7 separate regions of the Homo sapiens genome follow, and all the other regions are linked to region 3. The links are contacts of gene promoters, found by promoter capture Hi-C in human tissues and cell types (Jung and others, 2019). All regions are on one chromosome and are shown on one strand. Each heading gives the region's core, a stretch centred on a gene start or on the middle of the fragment in contact. The rest is flanking DNA. Distances are from core to core; before and after follow the strand shown.

Evidence for each region. Contacts are between HindIII fragments. The study calls those that stand out against the background at their distance.
Region 1: the fragment with the promoter of NDUFAF1 here is called in contact with the fragment with the promoter of VPS18 in region 3 in 3 of the 25 tissues and cell types used here (lymphoblastoid cells, spleen and stomach).
Region 2: a fragment that was not itself captured here is called in contact with the fragment with the promoter of VPS18 in region 3 in 1 of the 25 tissues and cell types used here (lymphoblastoid cells).
Region 4: a contact is called between a fragment that was not itself captured here and the fragment with the promoter of VPS18 in region 3, in 1 of the 25 tissues and cell types used here (spleen).
Region 5: a fragment that was not itself captured here is called in contact with the fragment with the promoter of VPS18 in region 3 in 7 of the 25 tissues and cell types used here (IMR-90 fibroblasts, dorsolateral prefrontal cortex, heart left ventricle and 4 more).
Region 6: a fragment that was not itself captured here is called in contact with the fragment with the promoter of VPS18 in region 3 in 3 of the 25 tissues and cell types used here (liver, lymphoblastoid cells and spleen).
Region 7: a contact is called between a fragment that was not itself captured here and the fragment with the promoter of VPS18 in region 3, in 1 of the 25 tissues and cell types used here (lymphoblastoid cells).

The regions. Positions count from the first base shown.
Region 1 is chr15:41,400,075-41,404,075 of GRCh38, forward strand. It overlaps NDUFAF1 (NADH:ubiquinone oxidoreductase complex assembly factor 1), which reads right to left and starts at 2,422. Exons shown (of 5, transcript NM_016013.4): 1 at 2,070-2,422. The HindIII fragment of the contact is 27,298 bases long and covers 1-4,001 here.
Region 2 is chr15:41,305,854-41,309,800 of GRCh38, forward strand. It overlaps OIP5 (Opa interacting protein 5), which reads right to left. Exons shown (of 5, transcript NM_007280.2): 5 at 3,420-3,947. The coding sequence ends at 3,901. It overlaps OIP5-AS1 (OIP5 antisense RNA 1), which reads left to right. Exons shown (of 5, transcript NR_152821.1): 3 at 2,714-2,771; 4 at 2,867-2,988. Among named protein-coding and RNA genes, the nearest start is that of OIP5, 25 kb to the right of the region's middle. The HindIII fragment of the contact is 3,593 bases long and covers 515-3,947 here.
Region 3 is chr15:40,892,426-40,895,966 of GRCh38, forward strand. VPS18 (VPS18 core subunit of CORVET and HOPS complexes) reads left to right here and starts at 2,025. Exons shown (of 5, transcript NM_020857.3): 1 at 2,025-2,434; 2 at 3,513-3,541. The coding sequence starts at 2,344. RefSeq lists a silencer at 1,741-1,910 and an enhancer at 2,751-2,840. The HindIII fragment of the contact is 19,251 bases long and covers 1-3,541 here.
Region 4 is chr15:41,289,420-41,293,549 of GRCh38, forward strand. All of the region lies in intron 2 of OIP5-AS1 (OIP5 antisense RNA 1), which reads left to right. Among named protein-coding and RNA genes, the nearest start is that of OIP5-AS1, 8.8 kb to the left of the region's middle. The HindIII fragment of the contact is 4,813 bases long and covers 1-3,744 here.
Region 5 is chr15:41,164,804-41,168,569 of GRCh38, forward strand. No RefSeq gene overlaps it. Among named protein-coding and RNA genes, the nearest start is that of INO80, 50 kb to the left of the region's middle. The HindIII fragment of the contact is 6,382 bases long and covers 1-3,766 here.
Region 6 is chr15:41,204,082-41,207,869 of GRCh38, forward strand. The region is part of intron 7 of EXD1 (exonuclease 3'-5' domain containing 1); the gene reads right to left. Among named protein-coding and RNA genes, the nearest start is that of EXD1, 25 kb to the right of the region's middle. The HindIII fragment of the contact is 8,031 bases long and covers 1-3,788 here.
Region 7 is chr15:40,522,975-40,526,703 of GRCh38, forward strand. It overlaps a transcript of CCDC32 not described here. Among named protein-coding and RNA genes, the nearest start is that of CCDC32, 40 kb to the right of the region's middle. The HindIII fragment of the contact is 5,556 bases long and covers 1-3,729 here.

The DNA of each region.
Region 1 (4,001 bases), core at 1,172-3,671, 510 kb after region 3:
AAAATAAAAAATTGTAAGGCCAGGCGCAGTGGCTCACGCCTGTAATCCCAGCACTTTGGGAGGCCAAGGTGGGTGGATGACAAGGTCAGGAGTTTGAGGCCAGCCTGACCAACATGAAGAAACCCCATCTCTACTAAAAATACAAAATTAGCCCGGTGTGGTGGCGCACAACTGTAGTCCCAGCTACTTGGGAGGCTAAGGCAGGAGAATAGCTTGAACAGGAGGTGGAGGTTGTGGTGAGCCAAGATCACGCCATTGCACTCCAGCCTGGGCAACAAGAGCAAAATTCCATCTCAAAAAAAAAAAAAAAAAAATAGAGATGAGGTCTTGTTATGTTGCTCAGACGAGTCTCTAACTCCTGGGTTCAAGTGATCCTCCTGCCTCAGCCTCTGGAGTACCTGGGATTACAGGCGTGAGCCACTGCACCTGATGAATACCACTCCTAATACTTTTTTTTTTCTTTTTTGAGACAGAGTCTCACTCTGTCACCCAGGCTGGAGTGCAGTGGCACGATCTCGGCTCACTGCAAGCTCCGCCTCCCGGGTTCACGCCATTCTCCTGCCTCAGCCTCGCGAGTAGCTGGGACTACAGGCGCCCGCCACCATGCCCAGCTATTTTTTTTTTTTTTTTTTTTTTGGATTTTTAATAGAGACAGGGTTTCACCGTGTTAGCCAGGATGGTCTCGATCTCCTGACCACGTGATCCACCTGCCTTGTTCTCCCAAAGTACTGTGATTACAGGTGTGAGCCACCATGCCCAGCCTACTCCTAACACTTTCATATCACCCTGATATATATTATCTCATGCCATCCACACACAAATCCTATGAAACAAGTCAGATACGTATTTCCTTTCTGTAGGATACAGACACCAATAGGTAAAATGACATTATCAATACTTTTTTTTTTTTTTGAGACGGAGTCTTGCTCTGTCACCAGGCTAGAGATCTCCGCTCACTGCAATCTCCGCCTCCTGGGTTCAAGCGATTCTCTTGTCTCAGCCTCCTGAATAGCTGGGATTACAGGCGGGCGCCACCATGCCCGGCTAATTTTTGTTTTTGTTTTTGTTTTTTCAGTAGAGATGAGGTTCCACTATGTTGGCCAGAGTGGTCTCGAACTCCTGACCTCAGGTGATCCGCCTACATGGGCCTCCTAAAGTACTGGGATTACAGGCGTCAGCCACGGCGCCCAACCTTTTTTTTTTTTTTTTTTTTTGAGATGGAGTCTCGCTCTGTCACCCAGGCTGGAGTGCAATGGCACGACCCTGGCTCACTGCAACCTCCGCCTCCCGGGTTCAAGTGCTTCTCCTGCCTCTGCCTCCCGAGTGGCTGAAATTACAGGTGCCCGCCACCATGCCCAACTTTTTTTTTTTTTTTTTTAAGACAGAGTCCAGCTCTGTCCCCCAAGTTGGAGTGCAGTTGTGCGATCTCGGCTCATTGTAACCTCCACCTCCTGGTTTCAAGCAATTCTCTTGCCTCAGTCACTGGGATTACAGGCGTGCGCCACCACGCCCAGCTAATTTTTGTATTTTTAGTAGAGACAGGGTTTCACCATGTTGGCCAGGCTGGTCTCGAACTCCTGACCTCAAGTGATCCGCCCGCCTCGGCCTCCCAAAGTGCTGGGATTACAGGCGTGAGCCACCGCGCCCAGCCGACATTATCAATAAGGTTTGTTGATAAATCAAAACCATGTAAACAGTATGTTTTCACATGTATTATAAACGTTAAGGGAACCAGGAAAAATTAACAGTTGATCTGAGGTCCCGGAATTATGGATAATATTTAAATTCCCCCGCGCCGGTTGCACTTAAATGATTTTACCTCTACACATACCGAAATTTGAGAAACAAATGATAGCTCATAAAATGTTTTCCAAACCCTCCGTAGTGTTACTTCTCTAATAATATAACTTTAATTATAAATGCTTTGTTTCATTTTTTTTTTTCTACCAGTAAACAGAAAATCTAAACTATTAACTGGACAATACCGCCCTGAGGTTGACGGTGGGTTTTGACAACACAATCCACGCAGCTAGAAGTGAGTAGAATTAGTAAAGCTATCCATGCCTTACCATGTGCCAGAAACTGCTCTAAGTGTTTCACTGACGGCTCACAACAATCCTGAGAGAGGTACTATTATTATTTCAATTATAGAGACGAAGAAACTGACGTTCCAAGGCTAATTTACCCGAGGTCACACAGGTAGTGAGTGGCAAAATTCTTCCGCCTTGGCGTATACCTCCCGCACTCACGGCCTGGCCTCCGGAGGCTAGACGGTTCGCCGCGCTGGGGAGGCCCCCTCAACCCTCAAGTGCCAGGGCTCTGTCGCCTCCCCACACCCGGGACACACCAACCGCCGGCCTGCCGCCGCTTACCTCCCCGAGCCTATAGTGTACCTTCCGCCCAGAAGCCACTTTACCCGTATAGGTCCATCTGCTTTTCCCTTCCGATGCCAAACAAGGCGTCAGAACACCAAAGTTCCGGCCGAGTACAGAAGCCCAGGAAGGACAGCAAGGACCCCGTAGCCCAGCCAACTGAGGTTTTTGGAGGTTTTTGGTCCACTTGGTCGCCAGTTGTAAGGAAGCAGTGAGAATTCAGATAAGTTTTTCGCCTCTCCTTCCTGTATCCTTTCAGGCGGCAAACTCCATCCCTGCGTCTTTTTTTTTTTTTTTTTTTTTGAGACGGATTCTCGCTCTGTCGCCCAGGCTGGAGTGCAGTGGCGCGATCTCGGCTCACTACAACCTCTGCCTCCCAGATTCAAGCGATTCTCCTGCCTCAGCCTCCCGAGTAGCTGGGATTACAGGTGCGCGCCATCATGCCCGACTAATTTTTGTATTTTTAGTAGAGACGGGGTTTCACCATGTTAGCCGGGATGATCTCGATCTCCTGACCTCGTGATCCACCCGCCTCGGCCTCCCAAAGTGCTGAGATTACAGGCGCGAGCCACCAAGCCCGGCCCCCTGCGTCTTTCAAATAGAACCCAGTTATTGCTAACGCGCCTGTATCCCTTCCTTCCTTATCTGTCGCCTCGGTCCCCACAAGAACTGCCTGAGGCCTCAAAAGGCCGATTCTGCTGGAATTGCCCCCATGAATTCTTGAGGACCACCACGCACCTGGACAGCAGCCCCTCCTACCAGCCCTTCCCGAGTCTCGCCCCACACGGTCGCCAGTTGCTCAGGGCATCTGTTTGTACCTTGTGCACACCTCTCTTAAAGCACTTTTTTTTTTTGAGACGGAGTCTCACTCTGTTGCCCAGGCTGTAGTGCAGTGGCGCGATCTGCAACCTCCGACTCCTGGGTTGGAGCAATTCTCCTGCCTCAGCCTCCCAAGTAGCTGGGATTACAGGTGTGTGCCACCACACCCGGATAATTTTTGTATTTTTAGTAGAGATGGGGTTTCGCCATGTTGGCCAGGCTGGTCTCGAAATCCTGACCTCATGATCCACCCACCTCGGCCTCCCAAAGTGCTGGTATTACAGGCGTGAGCCACCATGCCCGGCCAAAGCACTTAAACATTGTTTGTTTTTGTTTTTTTTTCTTACTGCCAGGGAAGACAGAATCAACATTGTATCTTTCACTCACTTCTCACTTCCTTTGCCACGCTGTGAGCTTTCTTGGGTCCAGACTGCGCTGTTTTTCCTTTCCCCAGAATGTACCATAGCGGCGGGAATTTAGTGCTTAGTGTGAATTTGAGAGCATATAGTTCCGTAACACCTTTGTTCTCTAAGGTTCCGAAGGAGCTCACTAAATACACTAGCCCTTTCCATGTTTTCTCCTTCACTAGTTTCCGCGCCGCCTCCTCTTCCTCAAATTCGGCTTGGCTTCTCTAGACTCTACACTTGCCCCCTCAAACCTTACCTTTCTGCCCCCATCACTGACTCTTCTATTCTCTTCCCACAACCTTTAATGCGGGCTGTCTCTCCATGGCCCATCCTGCCTCTACCTCTTTTCTAGTTTCAAATATAAGTTATCGGCCGGGCGCGGTGGTTCACGCCTGTAATCCCA
Region 2 (3,947 bases), core at 1,061-3,560, 410 kb after region 3:
ATATCCTGAATATAGTTTGTCTTCCCCAATTACTTGATAGCATGTCTGTCAGCCAGTAAAGATTAAGAACAGAGTTTCTCTAAATTCCTCCGATTATTCCACTAAGGCACATTAAAATACTTAATTTTGGGAAACCAGACATCACAGATTTCTCCATGAAGTCCTAAATCTTCTTTAAAGTCAGAATAGGTATCTTAGTTACTGACAGTATTCAGGTTTTTTTCTCCCTTGGTGATATGTCATTCCATCAGTGAAAAAATATTTTCTCCCAGGGATAAGAAAGGTATTCTGGTAATACATTATCATCAATCCTTAAACAGTAACAGTCTTGGCACTTATCACAAAACCGACCCATTTCTTATAACCAGAAAGATTATCTTAGACTGTCCTTCACATTATACTTTACCTACTGCCTTGTAAGAATAAGAGTTGCTCACTGTGTTTACTTGCTGTCCTCCATATTCTCCATTGCACCATTGGTGTATAACGTTAAGAGTTTCATTGAATATTATTTTAAGTATTACAAAAGGCAGCTTGCTTCTTAATCTATGCATCTTTGGGGTTTTTGAAGAAATTTAATTCTTTGATGTAAAAAGGAACTGTTAAAAAAGTTGGAAGCTCTGCACCTGTGTATATATATATTTTAGCAATAAAGCAGCATGGGCTGAGAATGCACTGAAATCTCATTGTGTGTCGTTACTTGAAATGGGTAATTTTAAATAATGCAGTACATACTGATGATGGGAGAAGGAGCCTTTCCAAAGACCTGTGCCAAAGTACTCTTCAGATGTTAAAGAACAAAGGACCAGGTTACTTGAGACCTAGCTGTAGCAGTTTCCAGTGTGTTGTACAATGGAACAGGCAGCCATTCAAACCTCAATATGTAATGCTGCTTTTACAGCCATAAGGAGTTTTGGAATACTTTTTCTAACATATTTGTAATTGCCTTTATTTTGTGTCTCTGTGTATCCACATACATGGAGTTTAATAATAGTATTCATTGAGCACCAACTATGTGATAAGCACTGCTCTAATTACATTAGATGCATTAATTAACTCATTTAATGCTCACTACAGCTCTAATTACTATAGTTTTTATCCCTATTTTACATAGAAGGAAATTAAAACAGATAAATTGTTCCAGTTCATGGCTAGTAAGTACCCAAGCCACAGTTTCAATCCAGTTTGGTTCCAGAGCCTGCTCACTTACCAGGATGCTATATTGTGCTTCTCAAAAAATAGAAAGGGAAGAAGTATACTTTCACTCTGTATTTTGTCACACATCTCTTTTTTCTAGAGTGAGCATGTAATCTGAAAAAAATCTATTTAAAGCTAGCCAGTTTAATTTGACGTAAAGGTCAAGCATTTAATTTTATTTATTTATTTATTTAGAGACGGAGTCTTGCTCTGTCGCCCAGAGCAACCAGGGGTGACTCAATGTGGTACTTATTAGGTCTTTTTTTTTTTTTTTTGAGACGGCGTCTCACTCTGTCACCCAGGCTGGCATGCAGTGGCATGATCTTGGCTCCCCACAACCTCTGCCTCCCAGGTTCAAGCGATTCTCCTGCCTCAGCCTCCCGAGTAGTGGGACTACAGACACACGCCACATGCTCAGCTAATTTTTGTATTTTTAGTAGAGACAGGGTTTCACTATGTTGGGCAGGCTGGTCTGGAACTCCTGACCTCGTGATCTGACCGCCTTGGCCTCCCAAAGTGCTGGGATTACAGGCGTGAGCCACTGCACCTGGCCTATATTAGGTCTTATTCTTTAAAAAGTAAAAGCTTTTATTGGGCTGGTTTTTGCCAGAAAGCATCAACCTTGCTTATAGGACCAAATTTTTGCAACTCTACGCATAATCAGACCTGGCACAATGGCTCACCGCTGTAATTCCAACACTTCAGAAGGCTGAAGTGAGGATCCCTTGAGCCCAGTTTGAGCCCACAGTGAGGCCTTGTCTCTACAATTTTTTTTTTTTTTTTAATTAGCCAGGCGTGGTGACACAAACCTGTGGTGCCAGCTATTCAGGATACAGTTGGGAGGATCACTTGAGACCAGGAAGTCAAGGCTGCAGTGGGCCATGTTCACACCTCTGCACTCAGGCCTGGGTGACAGAGTGAGACCCTGTCTCACCACCCTCCCCTCAAAAAAAGCATAAGCAGGCCAGTCGCAGTGGCTCACGCCTGTTATCCTAGCAGTTTGGGAGGCCAAGGTGGGTGGATTTGCCTGAGCTCAGGAGTTCGAGACCACCCTGGGCAACACGGTGAAACCCCGTCTCTACTAAAATACAAAAAATTAGCCGGGCGTGGCGGCATGCACCTGTAATCCCAGCTACTCAGGAGGCTGAGACAGGAGAATCGCTTCAACACTCGGGAGATGGCAGTTGCAGAGATCAGGCCACTGCACGCCAGCCTGGGCGACAGAGCAAGACTCCATCTCGGGAAGAAAAAAAAAAAATTTATATATATATATTCTGCTAGCTACATCCCAGCCAAGTTAGCTTTTCTATCCTCCACCACTTGGATATGTAATTTCTTGATTGTGCTAGTGCCAAAGGCTCTCCTTAGTGGTCTGCTTGCTGTCCTTCCCACCTGTTTTCCACAGGACAACCACAGTGACATTCTGAAAAAGTAAATTTGATTAGGCAGGCCTTCTTTTAAGGACCTCATAAAGGTCATCCCTCCATCACCTTATTAATTCCTATTCGTCTTTCAGACCACCGCTGAAACTTCACTTCTACACAGAGGCTTTCTTTCCCAGAAACCCAGACCAGGTCAGTTACCTGCTTTATGTGCGTGTATCCCTATGTTCCTTTACTTCAAAACCCTTACTAGCGTCATAATTTTACATATCTTTTTTTTTTTTTAGATGGAGTTTCACTCTGTCGCCCAGGCTGGAGTGCAGTGGCACGATCTCGGCTGACTGCAGCCTCTACCTGCTGGGTTCAAGCAATTCTTCTGCCTCAGGTTCCTGAGTAGCTGGGATTACAGGTGCGCACCACCATGCCTGGCTAATTTTTGTATTTTTAGTAGAGACGAGGTTTCACCACGTTGGCGAGGCTGGTCTTGAACTCCTGACCTCAAGTGATCCACTGCCTCGGCCTCCGAAAATCTGGAATTATAGATGTGAGCCACTGCGCCAGGCCTGTAATTTTATGTATCTTTATGTGATTATTTGAATGTCCCTCTCTGACTAGATTATAAATTCTAAGGATAGTGTGTCTATTTTTGCTTACCTTTTATCCCCAGCACCTAGTCTAACACTTTACAAATATATATTAAATTAATATTTTGATAAGTTACTCAAAGTGCTACATAAAACAAAATTATAGAAAATAGTACTTTGGTAACTGTTTCGTTTTATCATTGCTTTCATTATTTCTCTGTTAACCTCAGTTTACAACTGAAAAAGACAAATTGTATATTATTCAGGCAATTTATTAAACATTACCTATAGAATATTATGATCTGTATTTTACAGAAGTTAAAAAGTGATGTATTAGTATTCATAACAACTGCTCCATGCAGGAGTAATAGAAGTCAACATTAAGCCCAACTCTATTTTCAGACCAACCATGCAACTTTAGATCAGAGGACACATGGGACTCTGCATCTTAATTCCTAAATTTACAGTCAAAGACATTTTCAGAGATAAGTATTATGAATTCAATAAGAATCTAAAGTAAGTTCTTAAGGCAAATAGCTATAAAAGAGAAGAATCCTTAGTCTCTCATCTTCTAAAAACAGCTTCACAAATAATTTGGAAAATCAGCCTAAAGGTAAATAGAAACTGCATTTCCCCTCCATTCTTGAAGCCAATCTTTTTCAAGAAATGACTAAGCAGCACCTGTTGTTGAAGACAGCAATAAAGCCTGAACCTGACACTCAAGCTTTGGTACAGGATCAGTTTTCTGGCTTGGACTGGTCAGGAGTCACTTCACTCAGAATCT
Region 3 (3,541 bases), core at 775-3,274:
AGTGTCACAGCTAGCAAGTGGCTGGGCAGGGATAAGAGATACAGCTTGCCCTTGGAGATCATACATGCACTTCAAGTCTTGGGTCAAATTCAGCTGCTTTCATACAGGAATCCTCTCTTTTGATGCCCTAGCAGTCATCCCTTACCTGTCTCATTGCAACTGCCACACTTGATTCTGTGGCTCTCAAAGAATCCAAAGTCCAGCCTAAGAACTGAAGAATGAGTAGGTGGAAATGCACTGTGGTAATCAACGCATAAGGGAGACTGTACTGAGTCTGCCACAAACAGGGTCCACCCAGGCCTATCCCATACATCCCGGAGAGCCATGGAGCCCAACAATGGGGTGCTGGGGTCCCTGAGGCTGTAGCTGGAAGTACTCTGTGTCCCTAAGGCAGCACTCCTATGCTGACCTCCAACTGCTAATGGGCTCTGTGCAGCAGGGACAACCCTCTGCACAGTCCAGACCTGAGGGCAGATGGCAGGTGACCTGGGGGTGAAGTGTTATGTATGGAGCAGGGCAGCTCCCTGTCTGGGATCACTTTTCTTAGAGGAAGCCTCCTGCCTATTGTCCTGCTCCTGCACTTCCCTCCTGGGACCTGGCAACCTCAGGTGGGAAGGCTGCATTGAGGCTGCAGGCTTGGTCAAGAGAAGCAGGACCCTGGTGCGAAGGGAAATGAGCCTGGACAGCATACTTGTCACCTGCCCCAGGACTAGTGCCCCTCCAAGCCAGAGAGCCCAGATAGCCCTCAGTGGGGCTGGTGAGAGTCACAGTTCTCCGCACGTGGCCAGGAAGTTGAGCAAGAGTAACCCAACCACATAAGGTATGGTGCAAACCTGGAAACTTCTGAGAGCAAAGGGATGCTCTTAGTTGTTAGGCGGGGGCCGCCCAGCAGAGCCAGGACGGTGGCGACCCTAGTCCAGAGCCTTCCACTTTAGCAAGGTAGAATCCAAGGGCCCCAGAAGGGAACAGACTCCATCTGGGTCGCCTAAGCAGGTGAGAGAGGAAAACCCAACCACAGTCGCGCCCCAGCCCTCGCAGGTCCCTGGCTGAGGACTCCCCTCTCCACCTCAGGCTGGGCGGCCCCCGCCTTCACGCTTGCTCCCACTTGTCCCTCGTTCTTGCTAGGCTTGGCAGGTATTTGTTCCCTGCTCCTTCACGCTCTCAGTGCCGTGGCCACGTCGCTGGGTACGCCCCACCAGGCAAGAGACATTTTCCGTCTTGTTCTCTGCCACGTCCCCAGAGCCTGGAACAGTGCTTGGCACAGAGTGGACGCTCATTCGTGGAGTAAGTGCCTGATGGATAATCCATCACTTGCTTTTCTAGTATGAATGGTCTATTTACGGGTCCAGCGCCCCTGCTGGCTTACGACCTTTTCCAGGGCGGGGAGGGGCTGTCCTCATCTCTGTGACCCCAGCGCCCAGCCCAAGGCCTGGCACAGAGTAAGTGCTCAACCACATTTTGGTGAATGAGTGAATGGAAGCGGCCCAGCAACCCTGAGCCAAGGAGCCACTGTGGGGCAGGTCAGGGCGGTTCCTGGCACAGGGCTTCCCACTAGCCTGGCCACCAGCTCTGCGGTCTCCTGGAAGCTGGGGGGCCTTTGGGTAAGGGAGAAGAGTGGCCAGGAGTTGTCTGCGTGTGCCCTGTGACGGTGGGATAGAGACAGCGATTGGATTGAGGAACGGGAGGTTCCCCGAGGCTGTTTAGAGAGGCGGGAGCGGGAGCTGGTCAGGGAGGCTGGACAGACCACCCGAGGGAGCGGAGCTTGGGCACGAAAGCCAAAACTGGGCGGCGCGGGGCGGGTGGGGAAGGCCGGCTGAGAAAGCCGGGATTGCCTCCTGGTGTCAAAGCTCGGAACTGCAGCAGGATCCTGGGGGCGGGGCTTGTGTTCAGCAGCACTCGCCACGCGCCCAGCCCTCAGCCCTCGTCTCGCCTTCTGCTGGCTGGCCCGGCGACGTTGTGCGCCAGCGTACGCGGGGCTCTGAGAACCCGGAAGTTACGTTTTAGGCCCGCGTCACGGGGGCGGGAGTCAGCTGAGCTGCCGGGGCGAGGTTGGGATCACCTGGCACCGGCTGAAGGGAGCCTGTGATTTTTTTGTAGCGGGGGCGGGGAGTAAGGTGCAAGACTGCGCCAGATTCAAGGACGAGGGCTGCCCGATTATCTCGCTGCATAAGGCAAGAGCAAGAGGATCCTCAGGATTTTAAAGAGGAGGCGACGGCTGCAGGTTCCCAGGATCTGTCAGAGGCTGGGGAGTTACAGCTTCCATTCTGGGGCGACGGGGACCCCGGGGGGGTAGCCCTTTTGTAATCCCCAGGCCCCGGACAAAGAGCCCAGAGGCCGGGCACCATGGCGTCCATCCTGGATGAGTACGAGAACTCGCTGTCCCGCTCGGCCGTCTTGCAGCCCGGCTGCCCTAGCGTGGGCATCCCCCACTCGGGTAAGGAAGAGGAGGGTGCCGCTGCCCCTTTCGGCTCTCCTAGCATTTGCGTGGGAGCAGCGAGGAGGGCAGCTCCAAGAGCTCGGGGTCATCCCCTGGGCCGTGCCTTCCGGGTCTAGGCCCCTGATTCTCCTCAGGCTCTCTTGGCCCCCAGCTGGTGGATAGTCGAAGTTTGAAAGAGCAACGGGAGCTGCCGCGTGATCTAGGCTCTACCGCTAGGGTCCTTTTGAGAGGGAATTGGGGCCCAGATAAGGAATTACTCACCTACAGGGCGCAGTTGGGCTGTTGGGAGAACTTAGAATGGGCTCCCGGCTTCTGCTGATGCTTTTCCCACCAGGCCCCTTCTGGAGGTGGGAGGGAAGGAATGGACAAAGAAAGTGGTGAAGGCGGAGTATTGCAGAGGAAGAAGGGAGGGTCCCAGAGGGAATTTTGTCGCTGAACGGGGAAAATGGAGATGAAATCTTTTTGGCCTTGGCTATAGCTGGGTGCAGCCTGGAGTTTGGGGACGTTTTTGTAGAAAGTAGTGAGTCTCCAGGAGAATGAGGGCATAGGGAGCCCTGGGGAACTGTTCCAGTGAGTGGAGTTAACGAATTGGAGCTGCTTTCACTCTAGTCTTTACCTTCATTCAATGCTCAAAATATCCCAGCACTTGCCAACTCTACACTGAGGCTCATTACCGCATGGGCAGGGAGGGGGGCAGAGAATGGGGCTATACTACTTCAGTTAAGCTGGGATTGCTGGGCCAAAGACCTGATAAGGGAGAATACCCAGACCACCAGTCCCGTCCCACCTCCACGCAGCCCCATTACCAGTGGGAGCAGGTATATCATGCTGTGACAGCATCTTAAGGGTTCAAAGAATCAACCCCTCACTGCTGTCAGAGTGTGGAAAGAGCTCCAGACCTCTATTGTAAAGGTGACCAGCAAACGACTTGATATCAAACTATTTGTTAACCAAGGTCCTGGGGATAGGAATATGTCAGGAAAGTGGCGAGGAGCACTGTGGTGTTTTTTCTGCCTCTCCTTGCCCTTCACCTGTCTCTTCCACAGCTAATCTTCTTGTCATTCCTTACCTGTAGGGTATGTGAATGCCCAGCTGGAGAAGGAA
Region 4 (4,130 bases), core at 88-2,587, 400 kb after region 3:
TTGGGAAGCCAAGGCGGGTGGGTTCTTTGAGGTCAGGAGTTAGAGATGAGCCTGGCCAACATGGTGAAACTGTGTCTTTACTAAAAATACAAAAATTAGTCGGGCATAGTGGTAAGTGCCTGTAGTCTCAGCTACTCTGGAGGCTGAGGCAGGAGAATTGCTTGAACCTGGGAGATAGAGGTTGCAGTGAGCTGAGATTGCACCACTGCCTGGGCAACAAAGCAACACTGTCTCAGGGGGAAAAAAAAAAAAAATATATATATATATATATATATATATATATATATATATATATATATATATATATGGTGTAGAGAACTGATGTAAATAAAGTACATCAAAGGTAGTACTTTACTTACAGACTGGTACTTTGTCCTGATATGGAATGATCTCTAAGATACATTAACAGAAAAAGCAAGGTACAGAACAATATATAGTGTGCTTTCATTTGTGGGAAATGTCTCTAGAGATGTTTTGTAGCCATAGAATATTCCTAAAAGGATATGCAAGAAACACTGTTTACCCTATTTTACCTTATCTCGTGCATATATTTATTCAAATAAATAATTTAGAATTTTCAAAGAAAGGAAGCACTGAATAAATATTTGATAAATGACAACTTAAATTTTTGCTCAAGCAACAGTTTTACATCGATATAGTATATCCCTATCTAGGGGGCAGAAATTGAGCACCTAGCCCAGCAAGTTTTTTTGTTGTTGTTTGTTTGTTTTGGTTTTTTGCCCTGGCTGGAGTGAAGTGGCACAATCTCAGCTTGCTGCAACTTCCACCCCCCAGGTTCAAGCTATTCTCCTGCCTCAGCCTCTCTTGTACCTGGGATTATAGGTGTCTGCCACCACACCCAGCTAATTTTTGTATTTTTATTAGAGATGGAGTTTTGCCATGTTGGCCAGGCTGGTCTCCAACTCCTGACCTCAGGTGATCCACCCCCCTCAGCCTCCCAAAGTGCTAGGATTACAGGCTTGGGCCACCGCGCCTGGTAAGTTTTTTTTTTTTTTTAATTATTTATTTTTTTGAGACAGAGTCTCACTCTGTTGCCCAGGCTAGAGTACATTGGTGCTTGCTGCAACCTCCGCCTCCGGGGTTCAAGTGATTCTCCTGCTTCATCCTCCTGAGTAGTTAGGATTACAGGCCTGCCACCACGCCCAGCTAGGAAGGTTTTTTTTTTAATATGACACTTATAAACTTAATTTGATTGATAGTGATAATAGTATTCATTGTGTTTTGTGAAATATATTCTAAATTCCCTATTTACATAGTGAAGTAAAAAAGGTGCACTAACTCCCGGGATACATCATTCTCTCTGTCCTTAGAGGAAGCAAAGTATATTAGTTATTGCTGTATAACAAATAACCCAAAACTCAGTAGATTAAAACAACAACAAATATGTATTACGTCTCTCAAGAATTTGGTAATAGCTTAGCTCTGGGGAGGTTCTGGCTTAGGGTCTCTTAAAAGCTTGAAATCTGGCTAGGCACGGTGGCTCATGCCTGTAATCCCAGCACTTTGGGAGGCCAAGGCAGTCGGATCACGAGGTCAGGAGATCGAGACCATCCTGGCTAACACGGTGAAACCCTGTCTCTACTAAAAACACACACAAATTAGTCGGGTGTGGTGTTGGGCACCTGTAATCCCAGCTACTGGGGAGGCTGAGGCAGGAGAATGGCATGAACCTGGGAGGCGGAGCTTGCAGTGAGCAGAGATGGCACGCTACTGTACTCCAGCCTGGGCAACAGAGCAAGACTCCGTCTCAAAAAAAAAAAAGCTTGAAGTCTGATGGAGTTCTGTGGTGACACATTTACATGGCTGGCACATTCATGCTGTTTAGGGGGAAGTTTCATTTCCTCCCAATGTAGGCCTCTTTCAGGGCTGTCTGAGTACTCTTATACGGTGGCTGGCTTCTCCCTAAACAAGCAATCTAAGAGAATAAGGCAAAAGCCATAGTCTACTCTATGACTTTGCCGCAGAAGTCACTCACTGTCACTTCCTCCTTGTTCTGTTGGTCAGTATTCTGACATCAAGTGGTACATGGCAATACATTTCTTTTTTTTTTTTTTTTGACACGTAGTCTCGCTTTGTTCCCCAGGCTGGAGTGCAGTGGCGCAATCTCACTTGCAAGCTCTGCCTCCTGGGTTCACATCATTCTCCTGCCTCACCCTCCCAGGTAGCTGGGACTACAGGCGTCTGCCACCACGCCCAGCTAATTTTTTGTATTTTTAGTAGAGACAGGGTTTCACGGTGTTAGCTGGGATGGTCTCGACCTCCTGACCTCGTGATCTGCCCGTCTTGGCCTCCCAAAGTGCTGGGATTACAGGCATGAGCCACTGAGCCTGGCCATGGCAATACATTTCTGACACCACCCAAGAATTAGCATAGACCTCACAGGTCAAAGGGCATGGTCCTCAACAAGACTGTCCTCACTTCAGATGCCAGCTGTACTTCGGAGGTACCCCCAGCCACCTGCATTTTCGACCAAGTGGCTACAGATTTGGAGAGTCCCATGACCCTCTTAGAACCAGCTTTTGATTTCGTTGGTTTTCTTATTGTTTTTAGTTCCTTTAAAGTTAGGTTGGTTGATTTGAGGTCTTTTTACTTTTTTTTTGAGACGGAGTTTCACTCTGTTGCTCAGGCCAGAGTGCAGTGGCACAATCTCAGATCACTGCAACCTCTGCCTCCCGGGTTCAAGCAATTCTCCTGCCTCAGCCTCCCGAGTAGCTGGAATTACAGGTATGCGCCACCATGCCCAGATAATTTTTGTATTTTTAGTAGAGGTGGGTTTTCCCCATGTTGATCAGGTTGGTCTCAAACTCCTGACTTCAAGTGATCCAATTGCCTTGGCCTCCCAAAGTGCTGGGATTACAGGTGTGAGACACTGTGCCTGGCCAACTTTTTAGAAACAAGGTCTTGCTCTGTTACCCAGGCTGGAGTTCAGTGGCTTTTCTCAGGTGTGATCATGGCACACTGCAGCCTCGCACTCCTGGCCTCAAGTGATTCTCCCACCTTAGCCTCCTGAGCAGCTGGGACTACAGGCATGTGCCACCACTGCTGGCTGAGGTCTATTTTGATGTGAGCATTTACAGCTATAAATTTCCCTCTTAGCATTGCTTTCACCACATCCCATAAGTTTTTGTTAAGTTTTCATTTGTCTCAAGGTACTTTGTAATTTCCTTTTTGATTTATTTTTTGACTCGTTTAGGAGTGTATTATTTAATTTCCACTGGCTTATTTACTCCAAATTCTAAGGATTTAGAGTATCCTTTCCAGGAACAAAGGGCAGTCAAAGTCTTTATTATACAACAGTCACATAGATTAACCCTGATTCATTGTTGGAGGAGACTGTAAAAAGGCCTGAATACCAGGAGGCAGCAATCACTGGTGGCTATTTTGGAGGCTGGATAGCACAGAAAATCATTGGCTCACAAGCTAGCTTACCTAAGGTGTCCACATAAATTTTTTTTTTTTTCTTCTTTTTTTGAGACAGAGTTTCGCTCTTGTTGCCCAGGCTGGAGTGCAATGGCACAATCTTGGCTCACTGCAACCTCCGCCTCCCGGGTTCAAGCGATTCTCCTGCTTCAGCCTCCCGAGTAGCTGGGATTGCAGGCATGCACCACCACGCCCGGCTAATTTTGTATTTTTAGTAGAGATGGGGGTTTCTCCATGTTGGTCAGGCTGGTCTCGAACTCCTGACCTCAGGTGATCCACCCGCCTTGGCCTCCTAAAGTGCTGGGATTACAGGCGTGAGCCACCGTGCCCGGCCTGTTCTCCTTTTCGATCCTCCCAATAAGTCAGGTTTTTTAGTAGAAAGTTACTTTGTATAATCAGCACCAGTAAGCAAGTAAGTAACTTCAGCCACTTGAAAGTACCTAATGTGAGGCCAACTTTAGGGGAAATTTATTTGTAAGTTTTGTGTATCCGTTGTATAGTTGCAGTTGATAAATCCAGAAAACTAGATTTTCAGCAGCTGGTTGTGGTAGCTCACGCCTGTAACCCCACCACTTTGGGAGGCCGAGGTGGGTGAATCACGAGGTCAGGAGTTCGAGACCAGCCTGGTCAACATGGTGAAACCCTATCGCTACTAAAAATACAAAAAAAAGGTCAGGAGTTTGAGACCA
Region 5 (3,766 bases), core at 1,068-3,567, 270 kb after region 3:
TCGCCCAGGCTGGAGTGCAGTGGCGGGATCTTGGCTCACTGCAAGCTCCGCCTTCCGGGTTCACGTCATTCTCCTGCCTCAGCCTCCCGAGTAGCTGGGACTACAGGCGCCCGCCACTGTGCCCAGCTAATTTTTTGTATTTTTAGTAGAGACGGGGTTTCACCGTGGTCTCGATCTCCTGACCTCGTGATCCGCCCGCCTCTGCCGCCCAAAGTGCTGGGATTACAGGTGTGAGCCGCCGTGCCCGGCCTTCCATGAAGCCTTAAGAAAAAAAATTTTTTATAACTTTCCCTAAAACTTTATCATTTGATAAGTAAATTTACTTTTCAAGAAGGGTATAATCAAAGAGTAAAGATAATGTGACACTAAGATATCAGTGTTTTATGAATACACATAAGGCATAAATTTCAGCTGTAAAAAAGCCACATTCAGTCTGACTCTGGTTTTAAAACAAAACTTCTGTCATAATTATAGATGATACTGCAACTTTTGGAAGGCTAATTTGGTGGAATGTTGCCTCATCATAGAACACCACAGATCATTAAAAATTATATAAAAATTTTACCAAGCTACCATATAGTTAATAAAAGGGTATACAGTCACTTTTATTTTTGAAAATATGAAACATGGAGACTTTCAGTGTATATGATGCTTCTCTTTTGGTAAGGAATTATACTTTTATTTCATGGATCCCAGGCAGGCATATCAAAGTTATGGAATTTATAAAATCATTTGGGATAATTAGAAAATTCAATTATTCATAACAGAAAAATAAAGACTTTCTCAAAAGCAAAAAAAAAAAAAAAAAAGCAGCAAATACTTATTATCTCCCAGTTTCTGGGGGGTCAGGAATCCAGGATCAGCTGAGCTGGATGATTCTGGTTCACGTTCTCTTATAAGTTTGTGGTCAAGCTATAGGCTGGACTGTAGTCACCTGAAGGCTTGACTGGGGAGGATCTACTGGAGAGGAATGACCACTGTTTGGTTGTGGGAGATGAAGACATAGTCCCTCACAGACTGTCGGCTGGAGTCCTTGGTTCTCTGTCGGGCCGAATCCTCCCAAAAGTATTCTCCCAACATGGCAACCAGAACAAGTGATCTGACAGAAAGAGTGCACCCAAGATGGAAGCCATAGTATTAGGCCTTTTAGAAGCAAGGAAAGTATATACCAAGATTCTGGGAAGATGGCAGGGTGGTAACGGTGGCATACTTTCTAGATCTTCTCAAATCCCCATGTAAAAACAGAATAATTAGAGGACAAAACTCCAAACCCATGAACAATATTTACAACATACTGGGTGATGAAGTAACTCATAAACCTGAAATTGCAAAGAGGTGGGGACAACCCAAGAGATACTGACAACCATGTGGGAAAAACAGTAGAGGGAAGCAATGGGGTATCTGACAGACCTAAGAAGAAAATTGGTATTCACTAGAGAGTGTTAAGCGCCAATTTGAGAACAACAGCTGAAACCAAAAGGGGTTTTTTCACTCCAATAGCAATTGCATGAAAGGATCCCACAGTCTGAAGGTATACCCAGGCTTGAACAGTCTAGACCCTATAAGCTCTGTATAATAACCAACCATGGATCCCTTCCAGGACAAGTTCACACACTGGGGAGAAACTTCTAGAAATGGAACAAAAACTGAGCAGGGTAGGGAAAACAGAAAGGAAAGAGAGATAAAAGTACTAGGGAAGAAGACAAAGCCAAGAAATCTCAGAAAGCAAATAACTGTGATTTTAACACTACACAAAAACAACAAAATAGGAAGCTCTGTGAAGTTAAAAAATTAATTGAGCCTAGCCTGATGTGGTGGCTCACACCTGTAATGCCAGCACTTTGGGGAGCCAAGGCAGGAAAACTGATTGAAGCCAGGAGTTCTAGACCGCCTGGACAACATAGTGGGAACCTGTCTGCCCCCGCCAAAAAAATTTTTTTTTGAGACGAAGTCTAATTCTTTCACCCAGGCTGGAGTGCAGTGGCGTGATCTCAGCTCACTGCAACCTCCACCTCTGGGTTCAAGTGATTCTCCTGCCTCACCTCCCCAGTAGCTGGGATTACAGGCATGTGTCACCATGCCTGGCCCAAAGAAACCCCTTTTTTTTTTTTTTTTGAGATGGAGTCTTGCTCTATCACCCAGGCTGCAATGGAATGGCGTGATCTCGGCTCACTGCAACCTCCGCCTCCCGAGTTCAAGCGATTCTTCTGCCTCAGCCTCCTGAGTAGCTGGGACTACAGGCGCATGCTACAGTGCCTGGCTAATTTTTGTATTTTTAGTAGAGATGAAGTTTCACCATACTGGCCAGGCTGGTCTCGAACTCCTGACCTTGTGATCCGCCTGCCTCGGCCTCCCAAAGTGCTGGGATTACAGGTGTGAGACACTGCGCCCAGCCCCAAATTTTTTTTTGAAAACTAGCTGGGCATGGTGGCACATGCCTCTAGTCCTAGCTACTTGGGAGGCTCAGGTGGGAAGATTGCTTGAGCCCAGGAAGTCAAGACTGCAGTGAGCAGTGATTATGTCACTGCACTCCAGCCTGGGTGACAGAGTGAGAGTGTCTCAAAATAAAAAAAATAAAAAATAAATAGATGAACACTCTAATATATTGGTGCATAAAAAGCTAAAATGCATTAAGAATATTATGTAAGATGGCCGGGCAGGGCGTCTCATGCCTGTAATCCCAGCACTTTGGGAGGATCACTTGAGGCCAGGAGTTGGAGTCTAGCCTTGGCAGTATAATAAGAACCCCATCTCTAAAAAACAAACAAAAAACTATACAGCATATTTTAAAAATCACACTGTATCTGAAAATGGTGATCCAGAATGACCAACACCAAAACATAGTCTAACAAAATCATTTGACTTGAAAGAAAAAGAGGCCAAGGTGGGCAGTTCGCTTGGGTCCAAGAGTTCGAGACCAGCCTGGGCAACATGGCGAGACTCTGTCTCTACTAAAAATACAAAAAAATAGCTGGGTATGGTGGTGCACGCCTGTGGTCCCAGCTACTGAAGTGGGAGGATCACTTAACCCCAGAGGGTGGAGGTTGCAGTGAGCTAAGATTTCGCCACTGCACTCTATCCTGGGTGATAGAGTGAAACACTGTCTCAAAAAAAAAAAAATTATATCAGTCGGGCGCGGTGGCTCACGCCTGTAATCCCAGCACTTCGGGAGGCCAAGGCAGGTGGATCACCTGAGGTCGGGAGTTCAAGACCAACCTGACCAAGATGGTGAAACCCTGGCTCTACTAAAAATACAAAATTAGCCAGGCGGGGTGGTGCATGCCTGTAATCCCAGCTACTTGGGAGGAGGCAGGAGAATCGCTTGAACCCAGAAGGCGGAGGTTGTAGTGATCTGAGATCAAGCCATTGCACTCCAGGCTAGGCAACAAGAGTGAAACTCTGTCTCAAAAAAAAAAAAAATTATATCTTAGTAAAACCGTTAAAAATAATTTGTGGTTGATATAACTTACAATGAGAGTTCATCAAACTACAAATGAGGTTTCTGGTTTACATAATACTATTCTGATTTTCTTCCTATTTGTCTTCTCCTTCTTGGTCTCTGTGTGTATCTCTTCCTGTTTACTTTTTTTTTTTTTTGAGAGGGAGTCTCGCTCGTCGCCCAGGCTGGAGTGTGCAGTGGCGCAATCTCGGCTCACTGCAAGCTCCGCCACCTGGGTTCACGCCATTCTCCTGCCTCAGCCTCCCGAGTAACTGGGACTACAGGTGCCCACCACACCCGGCTAACTTTTTGTATTTTTAGTAGAGA
Region 6 (3,788 bases), core at 302-2,801, 310 kb after region 3:
CTAAAATACAAAAAAAATTAGCCAGGCATGGTGGCATGCACTTGTAGTCCCAGCTACTCGGGAGGCTGAGGCAGGAGAATTGCTTGAACCTGGGAGGCGGAGGTTGCAGTGAGCCGAGATCATGCCACTGCACCCCAGCCTGGGCGACACAGCAAGACTCTGTCTCAAAAAAAAAAAAAAAAAAATCAGCCAGGCACGGTGGCCCACGCCTGTAATCCCAGCACTTTGGGAGGTCAGGGCAGTTGGATCACCTGAGGTTGGGAGTTCAAGACCAGCCTGGCCAACATGGTGAAACCCTGTCTCTACTAAAAATGCAAAAATTAGCCGGGCATGGTGGTGGGCACCTATAATCCCAGCTACTGGGGAGGCTGAGGCAGGAGAATCGCTGGAACCCAGGAGATGGAGGCTGCAGTGAGCCAAGATGGTGCCACTGCACTCCAGCCTTGGCAACAGAGCAAGATTCCATCTCAAAAACAAAAAACAAACAAAAATTAGCCAGGTGTGGTAGTATGCACCTATAGTCCCAAGTAGTCCAGCTACTTGGGAGGCTGGGGCAGGAGGATCTCTTGAGCCCGGGAGTTCAAGGCTGAAGTGAGCCATGATGGAGCCACTATACTCCAGCCTGGGCAACAGAGACTCCATCTCAAAAAATGTATGTACTTGTATATATACATACACATATATATATACACATATACACATACACACACATATAGATAAAACTTTCCCTCTGCCTCTGTATGTAAAAAAGGGCCATAAAAATGATCTGACCCACCTTATTTGACAGTAGGTCATAGATCCCCATTCTATAGAGGGTCCCGCTACATACCAGGAAAGAAGAAATACATGCTATGAGAGCCAAGACGAATCTAGACAGACAGGCCTTGCTGGGTTTCCCAGTCAGTCTATTAACATTAGATCATATCTTTTTGTTCAATCATATTTCTCCATAGCTGTCCATACTTTGTTGAACCTAAACATAAAAATGGACAATTACCCGTGTATCTTTGAGTCTTCGTTCTGAAGGTTCTCATGTACGCGTTAAATTTGTTGTGTCTTTTCTCCTCTTAATCTGCCTTTTTGTGAGTTAAGTTTTCAGCAAACCTACAGAAGGCAAAGGGAAAATTTTCCCTTGGCCCCTGCATCTTGCAGCTTCCAGGCTTGAGAAAACAGCCTGCATTGGAACAGGAGGGTAGAGGGCTCCAGGAGAGATGACTTCAAGACAAAAATGCAGCATAGGTTGGCAGAATCGTGTTTTTGTTTGTTTGTTTGTTTTTTGAGACAGGGTCTCACTCTCACATGCATGAGAAACCATGCTTGGCCCTAGCCCACTAAATTTAAGCATGTGAAAAAACTGTATGGCATCCTTAAAGATATGGAACAGCTTAGTCATAGGTATAAAGAAAACAAAGTTGGTTGGGTGCAGTGGCTCATGCCTGTAATCCCAGCAATTTGGAAGGCTGAGCTGGGTAGATTGCTTGAGTCTGGGAGTTTGAGACCAGCCTGGGCAACATGGTGAAACCCTGTCTCCACAAAAAATACAAAAAGTTAGCTATCACGGTGGGATGTGCCTGTAGTCCCATTTGGGCAACAGAGTGAGACCCCGTCTCAAAAAAGTAAGGAAGGAGGGAAGGAGAGAAGGAGGGAAGAGAGGAAGGGAGGGAGGGAGGGAGGAATAAAATGAGGCAATTACTAACTCTATGTAAAACAAAAAGTTGTTCAAGAAGAGAAACGATTCTCCTTGACTCAGCAGAGAGTTATCATTACAGTCGTAATAACATATAGACTAAATTTGGTCTTTTTTTTTTTTTTTTTTTGAGATGGAGTCTCATTTGTGGCCCAAGCTGGAGTGCAGGGGCATGATCTTGGCTCACTGCAACCTCCACTTCTCAAGTTCAAGCAATTCTCCTGCCTCAGCCTCCCATAAATTCTGAATTCTGTCTTAGTAAAAAATTGTGACATAACTAAGTTGGAAAGACCTAGGGAAGAGTGGGTGCAATAAAGGAGCAAAATCTTTATTTATCACAATAAAATTGAATAGATTATGTGTAAAACTGATAAATCAAGAGAAAGCAATAAGCATGTTATTAGAAACAGGAAAATCCGGGCCAGGGGTGGTGGCTCACGCCTGTAATCCCAGCACTTTGGGAAGCCAAGGCAGGCAGATCACTTGAGGTTAGAAGTTCAAGACCAGCCTGGCCAACATGGTAAAATCCTGTCTCTACTAAAAATACAATAATTAGCCAGGCGTAGAGGTGAGTGCCTGTAATTCCAGCTACTTGGGAGGCTGAGGCAGGAGAATACCTTGAACCTGAGAGGCAGAGATGCAGTACAGTGAGCCAAGAGATTGCACCACTGCACTCCAGCCTGGGCAACAGAGAGACCCTGTCTCGAAAAAAAAAAAAAAAAAAAGAAACAGGAAAATAGCAGAAACTACATTTCAATGTGTTAAAAGTAGTTGACTCCCCTAATGTTTGTCAAAGTATTTTGTAAACTGTAAAGTACTGCACAAATATAACAATCCTGTTATTCAATTCTTTTTTTTTTTTTTTTTTTTTGAGAAGGAGTCTCGCTTTGTTGCCCAGGTTGGAGTGCAGTGGCACAATCTCGGCTCACTGAAACCTCCTCCTCCCAGGTCCAAGTGATCCGCCTGCCTCAGCACCATTAGTAGCTAGGATTATAGGCATGCGCCACCACGCCTGGCTAATTTTTGTATTTTTAGTAGAGGCGGGGTTTCACCACGTTGGCCAGGCTAGTCTCAAACCCCTGACCTTGTGATCTGCCCACCGTAGCCTCCCAAAGTGCTGGGATTACAGGCATGAGCCACTGTGCCTGCCCTATTCAACTCTTTTTTTTTTTTTTTTTTTTTTTTTAAGTAGTGCCTCTGCGCCAGGTGTGGTGGCTCACACCCAGCACTTTGGGAGGCCGAGGCGGGCAGATCACGAGGTAAGGAGTTCGAGACCAGCCTGGCCAACGTGGTGAAACCCCGTCTCTACTAAAAATACAAAAATTACCCGAGCGTGGTGGCGGGAGCCTGTAGTCCCAGCTACTCGGGAGGCTGAGGCAGGAGAATCGCTTGAACCTAGGAGGCAGAGGTTGCAGTGAGCTGAGATTGTGCCATTGCACTCTAGCCTGGGCGACAGAGTGAAACTCCGTCTCAAAAAAAAGTAGTGCCTCTGGCAGGGTGTGGTGGCTCATGCCTGTAATCCCAGCACTATGGGAGGCCAAGGCGGGTGGATCACCTGAGGTCGGGAGTTCGAGACCAGCCTGACCAAAATGGAGAAACCCTGTCTCTACTAAAAATACATTAGCTGGGAGTGGTGGCACATGCCTGTAATCTCGGCTACTCGGGAGAGGCTGAGGCAGGAGAATTTCTTGAACCCGGGAGGTGGAGGTTGTGGTGAGCCGAGATCGTGACACTACACTCCAGCCTCCAGGCGACAAGAGCAAAATTTCATCTCAAAAAAAAAATAATAAAAAAAATAAACGTAGTGCCTCTGAAGTGGAGTGGAGGGTTTTTTTTTCTCTTAAATTTGATTTTTTTCTTTTGCTTTTAATACAAGTGCACGTGATGCTTTTAGTTAAAAAATTAAACACACAAGCCCAAGGATCTGGCTGGGGAAAACCTGTCCATTAATTTGCTTCCAGTTGCAGAAAGGACAGCTGTAGTCCAGATCCCAGCACTTTGGGAGGTTGAGGTGGGCAGATCACCTGAGGCCAGGAATTCGAGACAAGCCTGGCCAACATGGTGAAACCCCATCTCTACTAAAAAGACAAAAATTAGCCAG
Region 7 (3,729 bases), core at 460-2,959, 370 kb before region 3:
TGCCACCACGCCTGGCTAATTTTTGTATTTTTAGTAGAGAGTGTGTTTTCGCCATGTTAGTCAGGCTGGTCTTCAACTCCTGAACTTACCTAAGGTCAGGAGTTTGAGACTAGCCTGGCCAACATAGTGAAACCTCATCTCTACTAAGTGATCCACCCACCTCAGCCTCCCAAAGTGCTGGGATTACAAGAGTGAGCCACTGTACCTGGCCAGCTGCTGGTTATCTGTTACAAGAAAAGGTGGATAAGCGCTGGGCGCGGTGGCTCATGCCTGTAATCCCAGCACTTTGGGAGGCTGAGGTGGGTGGATCACCTGAGGTCAGAAGTTCAAGACCAGGCTGACCAACATGGAGAAACCCCGTCTCCACTAAAAATACAAAATTAGCCAGGCATAGTGGCGCATGCCTGTAATCCTAGCTACTCAGGAGGCTGAGGCAGGAGAATTGCCTGAACCTGGGAGGCGGAGGTTGTGGTGAGCCAAAATCCCGCCATTGCACTCTAGCCTGGGCAACAAGAGCGAAACTCCATCTCAAAAAAAAAAAAAAAAAAGGAAAAGGTGGATAAGTCTCTCTGGATTTATTTTCCTTACCTGTAAAAAGGAAATAACCATAATTACCTCAACTACTTCAGTAAAATTGTGTTGAACAAATTTTTTGAATTATAAAAGTAAATAGGTAAAAGATAGTTTATTAAATAGGATATAAAAAGGGTCAATAAACAAATGAAAATATGCTCAATATCAATAGCCAACTGAGAAATGCAAATTAAAGCCACAGTGAAATACACACCCACCAGAATGGCTAAAATTAAAGACTGATACTACCAAGTCCTGATGAACACATGGAACAATTAGAACTCTCATTCATTGCTGGTGGGAGTGTTAAATGGGACAACCACTTTAGAAAACATATTGGCAGTTTTTAAAAATAAAACTAACAGACATAACAGTAGTTCCATTTTGTGGTATTTACCCAAGATAAAAGAAAATGTATATTCACAGAACAGCTGTACATGAATGTTCATAGCTGTTTTATTCACAGTAGCCAAAAACTGGACACAAATATCAGTTGACGGGAGAATGGATAAGTAAATTGTGGTATATCCAGAACAATTAAAGACAAGTCAGTAATTTAAAAGAAGAACAAATTATTGATACACACAACATGCATAATCTTTTTTTTTTTTTTTTTTTTTTTTTTTTGAGACGGGAGTCTGGCTCTGTCGCCCAGGCTGGAGTGCGATGGCGCGATCTCGGCTCTGCAAGCTCCAGCCTCCCAGGTTGACGCCATTCTCCTGCCTCAGCCTCCCGAGTAGCTGGGACTATAGGCACCCGCCACCACGCCCAGCTAATTTTTTGTATTTTTAGTAGAGACGGGGTTTCACCGTGTTAGCCAGGATGATCTCGATCTCCTGACCTCGTGATCCGCCCACCTCGGCCTCCCCAAAGTGCTGGGATTACAGGCCTGAGCCACCGCGCCCAGCCACAACATGCATAATCTTAAAAATATTATGTTGAGTGAAAGAAGCCAGACACAAAAGAGTATGTACTGTATAACTGGATTTATGTAAAATTCTAGAATGGACAAAACTAAGCTATAGGGACAGCAGATCAGTGGTTGCCTGGGGCTTATGGGGGTTGGGGCAATTGGCTGCAAAGAGGCATGAGAGAACTTTCTGGAATGATGGAAAGGCTCTGTCTTCATTGGGGTGGTGGTTACATGTGTGTATACCTTTGGAAAAATTCATCAAGCTGTTCTTTTTCTTTCTTTTTTTTTTTTTTTTTTTTTTTTTTTTTGGAGACTGGGTCTTGTTCTGTTGCTCAGGTTTTCTACAGCCTCGACCTCCTGGGGTCAAGCAATCCTCCTGCCTCAGCCTCCTGTGTAGCTATGATTACAGGCCTATGCCACTATGCCCAGCTAATTTTTTAATTTTTTGTAGAGGCAGAGTCTCGCTATGTTGCCCAGGCTGGTCTCCCAACTCCTGGGGCTCAAGCATTCCCCTCACTCAGCTTCCCAAAGTGCTGGGATTACAGGCATGAGTCACCATGCCCAGCCAAGCTGTTCTTTTTTTTTTTTGAGATGGAGTCTCACTCTGTCGCCCAGGCTGGAGTGCAGTGGCACAATCTCAACTCACCGCAACCTCTGCCACCCGGGTTCAAGCAATTCTGCCTCAGCCTCCAGAGTAGCTCGGATTACAGGCGCCTGCCACTGTGCTTGGCTAATTTTGTTGTATTTTTAGTTGAGATGGGGTTTTACCATCTTGGCCGGGCTGGTCTCGAACTCCTGACCTCGTGATCCACTTACCTTCGACTCCCAAATTGGTGGGATTACAGGCGTGAGCCACTGCGCCCGGCCAATTTTTGTATTTTTAGTAGAGACAGGGTTTCACTATGTTGGCCAGGCTAGTCTCAAACTCCTGACCTTAGGTAATCCGCCCGCCTCAGCCTCCCAAAGTGGTGGGATTACAGGCATGAGCCACCATGTATGGCTGAGCACTCTTCCTCTAAAGTCTCCCCAAACTATGTTATGTCTCCTAAATTCTGAAAAAGTCCTTCTAAATATTCTAAAGCCACACTCTTTTAGACTTATTTCCAAGACCTCAGGGAGGCCTACCAGTCCTTCTCAGGCCACTGTAACTGACCTGAAGTGTCCTCTTACCCAGACCTCAGCTCCTTTGACCTCACCCTGGCAGGCCACTGGGACCTCGCCTGCTCCTCAGAGCTGACCCTGCCTGACACCCCTTGTTTCTCCCTTAAGCTTTGAGTGCAGAGACCCAGGACATTCAGGATTCAGCCACAGGTGCTCAGGGAATACTGGGTGGCCTCTGGCCTGGGTTCTCCAAGCCTTAGAAGCCACCCACCCATAATGTCTGGTCCACCCAATGCCCTGGCCCTTGGATGCTCATACTTTGGTGTCTCTCCTTAGGTATAAATAAAATAGTGTCAATAATTACATATCTTTGTCCTTGGCCTTTTTTTTTTTTCTCTCCATGACCTGCAAGTCACCGTGGATGGTGGCTGGGGTGGTTGGGCTTTACTGTTCTTTCCCACTGAGAGTGCAGACGAAAGACCTCTGCAACAACACCTGTGAACTGCCTGGTGCCTGTGTGGGCCCACTGCGGCCTCACCTCACACAATGTGGGCTGTGTAGACCAGAGCCAGAGAAAGTTAAAGCTGCTCATGCACTAGGGATAAACACAATTGACAGTGGTTACTGTCCTTCCAGAACATTTTTTTTCATGAAAATATGTGGGCTTGTTTGTAAGTGTGTGTTGGGGGGTCATTTGTTTTTAACAGGCTGGGCTCATGCTCTTTCAGCTCAATAAATATTTATTGATTAGCTACTGTATGCCAGGTACTGTTTTATATAACTGAAAATAATACTGTAACTTGCTGTTTTTTCTTAAAAGCATAAAATCTTTCCACATCAGTACATAATGATCTCCATCATTATTATTGACAGTCACATGGTAGTCCATAGCAAGGCAGTTTCACAACTCCAGAATTTAACTAATTTTAGACATTCAGATTGTCTCCATATACTTTTCCATTACAAGTAATGCTGCAGTGAATGCCTTTGTCATATGACCTTGTACACATTTGTAAATATTTCTAATAGACTCCTATAAGGGAAACTGCTTAATTAGAACAAATGTGCTGGCTGGGCGCAGTGGCTCACACCTGTAATCCCAGCATTTTCGGAGGCCGAGGCGGGCAGATCACCTAAGGTCA